Linked DNA regions of Homo sapiens: region 1 is linked to region 2. The links are contacts of gene promoters, found by promoter capture Hi-C in blood cells and fetal thymus (Javierre and others, 2016). All regions are on one chromosome and are shown on one strand. Each heading gives the region's core, a stretch centred on a gene start or on the middle of the fragment in contact. The rest is flanking DNA. Distances are from core to core; before and after follow the strand shown.

Evidence for each region. The method cuts DNA at HindIII sites, captures the fragments that hold promoters and counts their contacts. A CHiCAGO score of 5 or more calls a contact.
Region 1: a contact is called between the fragment with the promoter of KRABD2 here and the fragment with the promoter of PIK3R5 in region 2, in 8 of 17 cell types (total CD8 T cells, total B cells, naive CD8 T cells and 5 more). The highest score is 6.6, in total CD8 T cells.

The regions. Positions count from the first base shown.
Region 1 is chr17:8,374,587-8,378,800 of GRCh38, forward strand. It overlaps KRABD2 (KRAB domain containing 2), which reads right to left and starts at 2,118. Exons shown (of 2, transcript NM_001304947.3): 1 at 1,314-2,118. It overlaps RPL26 (ribosomal protein L26), which reads right to left. Exons shown (of 4, transcript NM_000987.5): 4 at 2,930-3,106. The coding sequence ends at 2,978. RefSeq lists an enhancer at 1,757-2,308 and a silencer at 2,053-2,252. The HindIII fragment of the contact is 1,665 bases long and covers 926-2,590 here.
Region 2 is chr17:8,964,098-8,968,093 of GRCh38, forward strand. It overlaps PIK3R5 (phosphoinositide-3-kinase regulatory subunit 5), which reads right to left and starts at 1,610. Exons shown (of 19, transcript NM_001142633.3): 1 at 1,499-1,610. It overlaps PIK3R5-DT (PIK3R5 divergent transcript), which reads left to right and starts at 1,750. Exons shown (of 3, transcript NR_184080.1): 1 at 1,750-1,906; 2 at 2,670-3,744. RefSeq lists silencers at 1,534-1,853, 1,924-2,023. The HindIII fragment of the contact is 6,543 bases long and covers 1-3,996 here.

The DNA of each region.
Region 1 (4,214 bases), core at 868-3,367, 590 kb before region 2:
TCCCCCTCTCTGAGAAACACCCAAGAATGATCAATAAATACTAAAAAAAAAAAAAAAAAAAAAAAAATTGAATGATTCGGCCGGGCGTGGGGGCTCACACCTGTAACCCCAGCACTTTAGGAGGCGGAGGTGGGCGGATTACAAGGTCAGGAGATCGAGACCATCCTGGCTAACACGAGGAAACCCCGTCTCTACCAAAAATACAAAAAATTAGCTGGGCATGGTGGCGAGCGCCTGTAGTCCCAGGAGGCTGAGGCAGGAGGATGACATGAACCCGGGAGGTGGAGCTTGCAGTGAGCCGAGATCGTGCCTCCGCACTCCAGCCTGGGCGACAGAGCCAGACTCTGTCACAAAAAAAAAAAAAAAAAAAAAAAAAAATTCAATGTTTCACCTATATTTACAGATTGGGAGATTTCACATAAATCTCGATTTCTTTCTTTTTTGAGACAGAGTTTTGCTCTGTCATCCAGGCTGGAGTGCAGTGGCGCGATCCCGGCTCACTGCCAGCTCCGCCTCCCGGGTTCACGCCATTCTCCTGCCTCAGCCTCCCGAGTGGCCGGGACTACAGGCACCTGCCACCAGGCCCAGCTAATTTTTTGTATTTTTACTAGAGATGGGGTTTCACCGTGTTAGCCAGGATGGTCTCGATCTCCTGACCTCGTGATCCACCCGCCTCTGCCTCCCAAAGTGCTGGGATTACAGGCGTGAGCCACTGCACCCAGCCTCGATTTCTGGCTTTCTTGAAAAGGCAACATTCTGGCTGCACTGGCGGCATTGCTGCCTGGCAATAACTGGCTGTGATGGAGAGGCGGCATCTTCCTTTGGATCAAGCTTGTCCAACCTGTGGCCTGTGGGCTGCACGCAGCCCAGGACGTCGGGACCTACTAACCTATTCATCTTACTTGCCCACTCCTGCACATTTCTAAGCTTTCAATATCTTTTTTCTTTCATTTTTTTTTTTTTTGAGAGGGTAGGGTCTCACTTTGTCACCCAGGCTAGAGTACAGTGGCATGATCACGGCTCCCAGGGTCAAGGCATCCTCCTACCGCAGCCTCCCAAGTAGCTGGGACTACAGGCATGCGTCACCAGACCCAGCTAATTTTTTCTTTTCTTTCTTTTTTTTTTTTTTTTGTAGAGACGGGGTCTCATTATGTTGCCCGAGGCTTCAGTATCTTTTCCAAAGCAACATGAAAGAAATGTGACCGTAAATCAATCAGCTTCTTGGTGTGATCTATGTGACGGCTAGGTGATAAACGAGTTGGTCAGAGAAAACTGGAAATATTTCCAAAGCCATGTTTACTCCCTTCACCCACCTGTGAGTCTTCGCCTTGGCTGTTTCCGACTCGGAATGTCCTCGCATTGATCCTCCCAATCACAGCCAGCTGAAACCAGCCTCCTTCCTGACGTATTCAGTAACTTTAGCTGATTGCCATCTCTCCTTCATCTCAACAACCTGTACCACACTCACTGGAGCACTTCGCTTTGCATCTTTAGTCGACCAGTTCAGATATATACAACCTATAAGGTAGGGACGGAGGCTTCTACCTGCCTGTACCCCCTTTGGAGGGCCCACGAATACAGAGCTGAGCACAAAAGATGTTTAAAGGACATTTTGTCAAAAATGTCGCTTACAGGTAGGTCGTTATTAGCAAGGTAGAGCAGCGGTACGGCCGAGTCTACGCTTGGGAATTCATTTGCTGACTCTTATCATTTACTGACTAAAGCAAAGTTACTGAGGCCTCAGTTTCCTCATCTACAACCCGGGGAGATGACCAGTACCCATCACAATCGATTGCTATGAAGATTCAATGATAATGCAGATAAGGCACTTAATACAGTGTCCCCTCACCGTCCACACCACACGGGCACGCCCGCTTATTCCTGAGGACCGGGCTGGGATGTCGCCTCCTTTGTGTAGCCTTCCTACCCTGACTTCGCAGACTGCTCCCACCGCCTGGATCCATGCCCGTCCACCCGCCAGCTCAGGGCTGAACGGCTGAGGCGGGCGCGCGGTGGAGAAAAGAGCTGCAGACTGAGGAAGGTCAGGAAGGAGAAAGGGACACACCAGACGCGGCGTCTGAATCCCCCTCCACCCAGAGGCCCCCGAGCAGCAACTCCGCCCCACCTCCCGCCCGCTCCGCCGGAAGCCGGTCAGCGCCAGCCGGAAGCCCCGCCCCCTAGAGGCACCGCGGACACCGTGCAGCGCTGTTCACCCAGATGCCAGCTGTGACCTTGGCTAAGCCAGTGACTTAACTCGGGCCCGTTCCCCATTCCCACGTTGTTGCCAAGTCTCCAGCCTGGAAAGTAAACGGGCTTCAGGTGTCCTGTTTAGATGCTTAAAATGAGGAACGGCAGGAGCACACACACTGCTGCCACCTCACACCTTTTCACTTCATCCTGACGAAGCTGCAGTTTAGTTTATATTTTAACTCAAAGACGTGTTAGGTTTTGGTTTGATGGCACTCATCCAGCACTTGTGCAGAAAACAAGGTAAAGGGGGCCCATGGGTCTATCAGATAACCTGAACCCGAGACCTCTCAATCTGGAGGAACAGCTTGAAGAAGTCATCTAGAAGCTATAAAGTCACAGAAGCTTCTTATCCTATTGAAAGCAAGACTTCCTATCCAATGGCAATACAAACTTTTACGCAGTAAGGTAAAAAATATAGCCTGTCCATATAGCAACCTATCCATAGTAAGCAAGTTAAAAGACAGGTTCAAGAGGAAGTGTTTCCAACTAGCTTTTCTTGTAGGCCTTCTTCTTCTCAATGACACCCCTCCAGCTTCTGATATATCCTCAAATGCTGCTGCCCACTATAAAAAAAATCTCATCAGTCCTGATTTCAGAAAAATTTTAGACCAACAAATCAGAGGTAAGAGACTGATCCACTGAAAACTAGGGAGTGTCCTAAATCACCACACACAAAACACAGGCTCTTTGTTTCAAGTTTTAATCAAAGCTTGTATATAAGATTACTTTATTCCTGCATCTTCTCAATGGTTTCTTCCTTGTATTTGCCCTTTTCCTTTCCTACTTGGCGAGATTTGGCTTTCCGTTCGAGGATCTTTTTGCGGTCTTTGTCCAGTTTTAGCCTAGTGATAACCACCTGCAGAAAAATAAGAAAAAAACACTCCCAAGCTTTAAATAATCACTAAAACACAAGGGAAAGCCCAACATTCAATACCATTTCCCAAACCTGGGGTAGGTGGATGCCTAATAAGAAAAGATTTTAACTTTTAAAAAACTCCAGAAATCACTCTTTAGCCATCAAACCTGGCTTATTTACTAATTTCCTACCAACAAAGGAGAAAAGGCAAGATGGTATCAGTAATTCTTAAAGCCTCTTCTGTGCTTCATTATAAGATTTGTTTCTTTTTCACTGAGAAATATATGATTCTGCTCTTCTCACTACAGTTTTACAAGCTGTCATATACAAATATATTTGTTTCCAAAGTAACTTCAGGCTGGGTGCGGTGGTTCATGCCCCCAATCCCAGCACTTTGGGAGGCAGAGGCAGGCGGATCACCTGAGGTCAGGAGTTTGAGACCAGTCTGGCCAACACGGTGAAACCCCTTCTCTACTAAAAATACAAAAATTAGCTGGGTATGGTGGCACATGCCTGTAATCCCAGCTACCTGGGAGGCTGAGGCAGGAGAATCTCTGGAACCCTGGGGGGGCGGAGGCTGCAGTGAGCTGAGATGGTGCTATTATTGCACTCCAGCCTGGGCGATCAATCGAGACTCCATCTCAAAAAACAAACAAGTAACAAAACAGCAGGGTGTGGTGAATGCCTACTCAGGAGGCTACTGCGGGAGAATCGCTTGAACCCAGGAAGCAGAGGTTGCAGTGAGCTGAGATCGCACCATTGCACTTCCAGGCTGGGCGACAAGAGCAAAACTCTGTCCAAAACAAAAAAAACCCCACCCCCAAACAGAAAAATAATAAAGTAACTTCAGAATTTTAATGCTAGAAATTAAAGGTAGCATCCACACATAATTCCACCTGCAAAATCTTTAGTGAGAAGATGACAATACGATCTTACTCCAACAGTTCCAATCCTAAAAGACATCCAAATTATGATAAATTTTAGTCTTATGAATGCGAGGAAAGGGTGAAAAGAGGTGCTGGAAATACAGCATGCAGACCAAACAAAAATCTCCACAGTCACTGAACTCATATTCTAGTATAGGGAGCCCGAAAACATTTACAAGTGA
Region 2 (3,996 bases), core at 360-2,859:
TTTCCACACTGGGCCAGGCACAGTGGCTCATGTCTATAATCCCAGCACTTTGGAAGGCCAAGGTAGACGGATCGCTTGAGCTCAAGGAATTTGGGACCAACCTGGGCAACATGGCAAAACCCTGCCTCTACAAAAAATACAAAAATTAGCTGGGCGCCGTGGTGCTGACCTGTAATCCCAGCTACTTGGGAGGCGGAGGCGGAGGATTGCTTGAGCCTGGGAATTTAAGGCTGCAGTGAGCCATGATCACGCCACTGCACTCCAGCCTGAGTGACAGAGCAAGACCCTGTCTCAATAATAATAATAATAATAATTCCACACAGCTCTATGGGTCAGTATGACAGCCCATTTTATGAATCAGGAGACTGAGGCTGGGTTGGGGGACAGTGTGATGCTGCAGGTCACACAGCTGGATCCGGTTGGAACTTGGGTCTCTTTTCCACATCATGCATGGTTCCCAAGCAACGGCTTCAGCATCATCACTTAAGGAGCTCATTCAAAGTTTTGAAAACTACAGATTCCAGATCCCATCCCTGGAAAGCCACGTTGTAGGGTTGGCTCCAAGAGAGCCCTACCTGCAGTCAGCTCTGGGAGCCAGTGCCTTACAGGTGGTCCTGAGGGCAGGAAGGAAAGTGTGGGGTGGATGAGAAGACACAGAAGGAAAACGAGGGTGTCAGTCCAGAGAGGACCTTGGAGGCAGGCTTGGCCTACTTTTAGCCCTTATTCTGCCTAAACCCACCCCTCCTCTCTACTCCGAGTCTTGTTAACTCGCTTTATACCACATCCTGCTGCTTTAACCTCGCCTTCCTTTTCCTTCTGAACAATCTCCTTCCTCCTACTGACCTGAACTTTTTGTGTATTTACCCCAGGCCGGGATGGGCCAGCACGCGCACATGCGCATGCCCACACACACACACACACACACACACACACGAGTCACGCGGGGATGTCCAGTGTGTAAACACAGATCCTCTGAGAGCAGAAAGCGTGCAGTTCTCTAGGACAGCAGCCGCGTCTGGGCCCAAGGCTGGCTAACTAGCAGGCTGAGTGAGGCTCGACGGAGGGCGCCTTACGCGGGCACTTCCATGACTCCCAGGTTCTGACGGCACAAGAGCCCTGATGCCCACGCTCACGGACAGTTCCCCGCTGGAGCGGGCAGGGGACCTGACCCTACGACACAGGGCGTCCTGTGTCAGAGGCAGGAGGCTGAGGACACAGCTGCGCAGAGCCGCCCAGCAGAGGTTACCCGGATAACGATAAGTGGTCCCCGCGACGCCCCTTAAGTCTCTGGGGTTATCTGGAGCGCAGGTTTGCAGACCCGCTGCCCCCGCGGTGGGCCAGGTCCACGGGGCCGGAAGATAGCAGGATCTGTCCAGCCCTCGGGCTGCGGCGGCTGCTCGCGGAGCCCACTCTCCCCGACGGTCCCCAGCTTGCTCCAGCTCTGCCTGGAGCTCCCATGCGTGCCCTCCGCATCCGCCCTGGCCGCCCAGTCACACACCTGCAGTCCCCGCCGGGCGCCGAGCCCCTCTCCAGCGGCGACTCCCTGCGATTCGGGTGACCGTCGGGACCACCGCGCCCCAGCTGGAGCCGCGCGGCGAGCCGCAGCATCTGCCCAGCCTGGGCTCCTCCGGCGGGCGGGGCGGAGCCTGTCAGGGGGCGGGGCCTAATGGGGCGGGGCTGACCGCGGAGCCGGCCTCTCCAGCCACCTGGCGGCCCGGCAGCGTCAGCCAGGTGCGCGCCCGGCCCCACATCCTCTGGGTCACGCCCCCGAGGCCGCAAGGCGTCTGAGAAGCAGCCCCGGCTCTGACCCGCCAGCCCTCGGAAGAAGCAGACCCTGGCCGGTCCATGGCAGTGGCCCGAGGGGCACCAGCGCGGAGCACCAGCGACCCCCAAGGAGTAAGGGGAGGTTAGGCCCCCGCGTCGGAAGCGCGGCTTTGGCCCCGCAGGAGGGCTGGGCGGAGCAGGGGGGCAGGTCTGGGGTAGGGGCTTAGGGGAAAGACGAGAAAGAGGAAGCTCCGACGAGCTGCTTCCTTCTCTCACTGCGACCCACTTCCTCTTCCTACTTCTATTTTCTTTCTTTTTTTTTTTTTTTTTTTTGAGATGGAGTCTCGCTCTGTCGCCAGGCTGGAGTGCAGTGGCACGATCTTGACTCCCCACAACCTCCGCCTCCCGGGTTCAAGCGATTCTCCTGCCTCAGCCTCCCGGGTAGCTGGGACTACAGGCGCGCGCCACCACGCCCAATTTTTTGTATTTTTACTAGAGACGGGGTTTCACCATGTTGGCCAGGATGGTCTCGATCTCTTGACCTCGTGATCCGCCCGCCTCGGCTTCCCAAAGTGCTGGGATTACAGGCGTGAGCCACTGCGCCCGGCCCCTACTTCTATTTTCTTTGGGTGCCCTTAACCCTTAAAATGCCTGCACTACTGCTGTGCAGACGGGCACCTTGACCCGCATCCTTCTGCAGGAACCTTCATAGAAATACCAGCCAGTCCCGGCGTTCAGCACTGCTGTTCCAGCCTCTGGCTGGACTTCCCGCCCTCCCTGGCCGGCACCAAGGCTACTGTCACCTGAGTGGTTTCCCCAGCCCCTGGGGAAGGGAGTGAGGGTGTGCGGGAGTTCCTGCCTCCAGGGTCAAGGCCCTCTTCTTGCCTCCCCCTTTTCTCCCCCAGACGACGTTGCAGATGATGCTCTACCAAGAGTTGGAAGGACTCCCCAGGGAATCCCACAAGACACTGCGCTTCCTATGCCTCCTTTCCCTCGTTTAAAAAATGGGGATAAGAAGGTTGGCTACTGCTCCGACAGCCCTCACAATGGAAGAGTAGCACTTCATTTGTGGGTTAACAAAGGGCAACGCTGAAATCTCCACTTCCACTATTGAATGGAACTGTGTCATAATATCTGTTAGAGGCGTGCAAACTCGGCCACAAGGTCATGGTCATACGTTATTGTTGGTCAAAAGCCGCAGCCCTACCTGAGGCTTTGAGAGATATGAACACCAATGACTTTTCTTTTCCTGACTCCCGAAATACCAAGAAAAAGCAACTTCCCCAAATGGACAGAAACAGAAAGTACCCTTGGTTGAACACAGAGGCCTGGTTCCAGCCATCGTTAGACGTGGGAAGGAACTCAGACCCCCTCTCCTACCTCATCCCCAACCCCTTCCCCACACGTCACCCTTTCACAGAGAAGGAACCAGAGCCACCAAGGGCTGAGAGAGGACTTGATAAGGATTCCAGTCTTCTGTCTCCCCTGTCCCCACTTTTTCCACCACAAAAATATGGACATTTGGAAGAAGAGGAGAAGAGGGAAGGTACACACTGTGCAAAGGAAGAAAATGGCAGAAATGCTCTGGAATCAGGAATTCAGGAGCAAGAATGACACTGTGTGCCAGATGGAAATGTTGGATTAGGAGAGCACTTGGAAAGGCAAATAATCTGCCAGAGAAATTATGGGATGCCTGCCTTCTGAAAATGGAGGAAAACTGCAAAAGAGTGGCTCATTGGTGCTCACTCCTAGGGCTCTGAGCATCCCAAGAAGCCAACTTGGTCCCATCGTACATCCCCTCAGAAGTAGGCATTCTCCTCTCCACCTACAGCTGTGGCCCAGATGTGGAGCCTGCATGTTATGCCACGCCGTCAACACTGAGTTCTGTCTGCGTCTCCCTGTCACAGATCTGATCAGCACCTGACACCTATCCATTCTCCATTTCCCACCTCCCCAAAGCTGCTGGAAAAACTCTGAAAGGTACCTCTGTCACTCATTAAGCATCTGATTATGTACCTCTTTCTACAACTCCTTTGTTGCTTTGTTTTAAAATCTATGGCTCTTTGAAATCACTCTCCTTCCTTTCACTGCCTAATGTTTTCAAAGAGGAGTCTACCCCTGCCTCCACTTCCTCATCTTACATTTATTCCTCAATTCTCTGAACAGAGACCACCAGGGAAACCCCAAATGTCAACTCCAATGGTTTCATTTTCTTACCTCACTACAGCATTT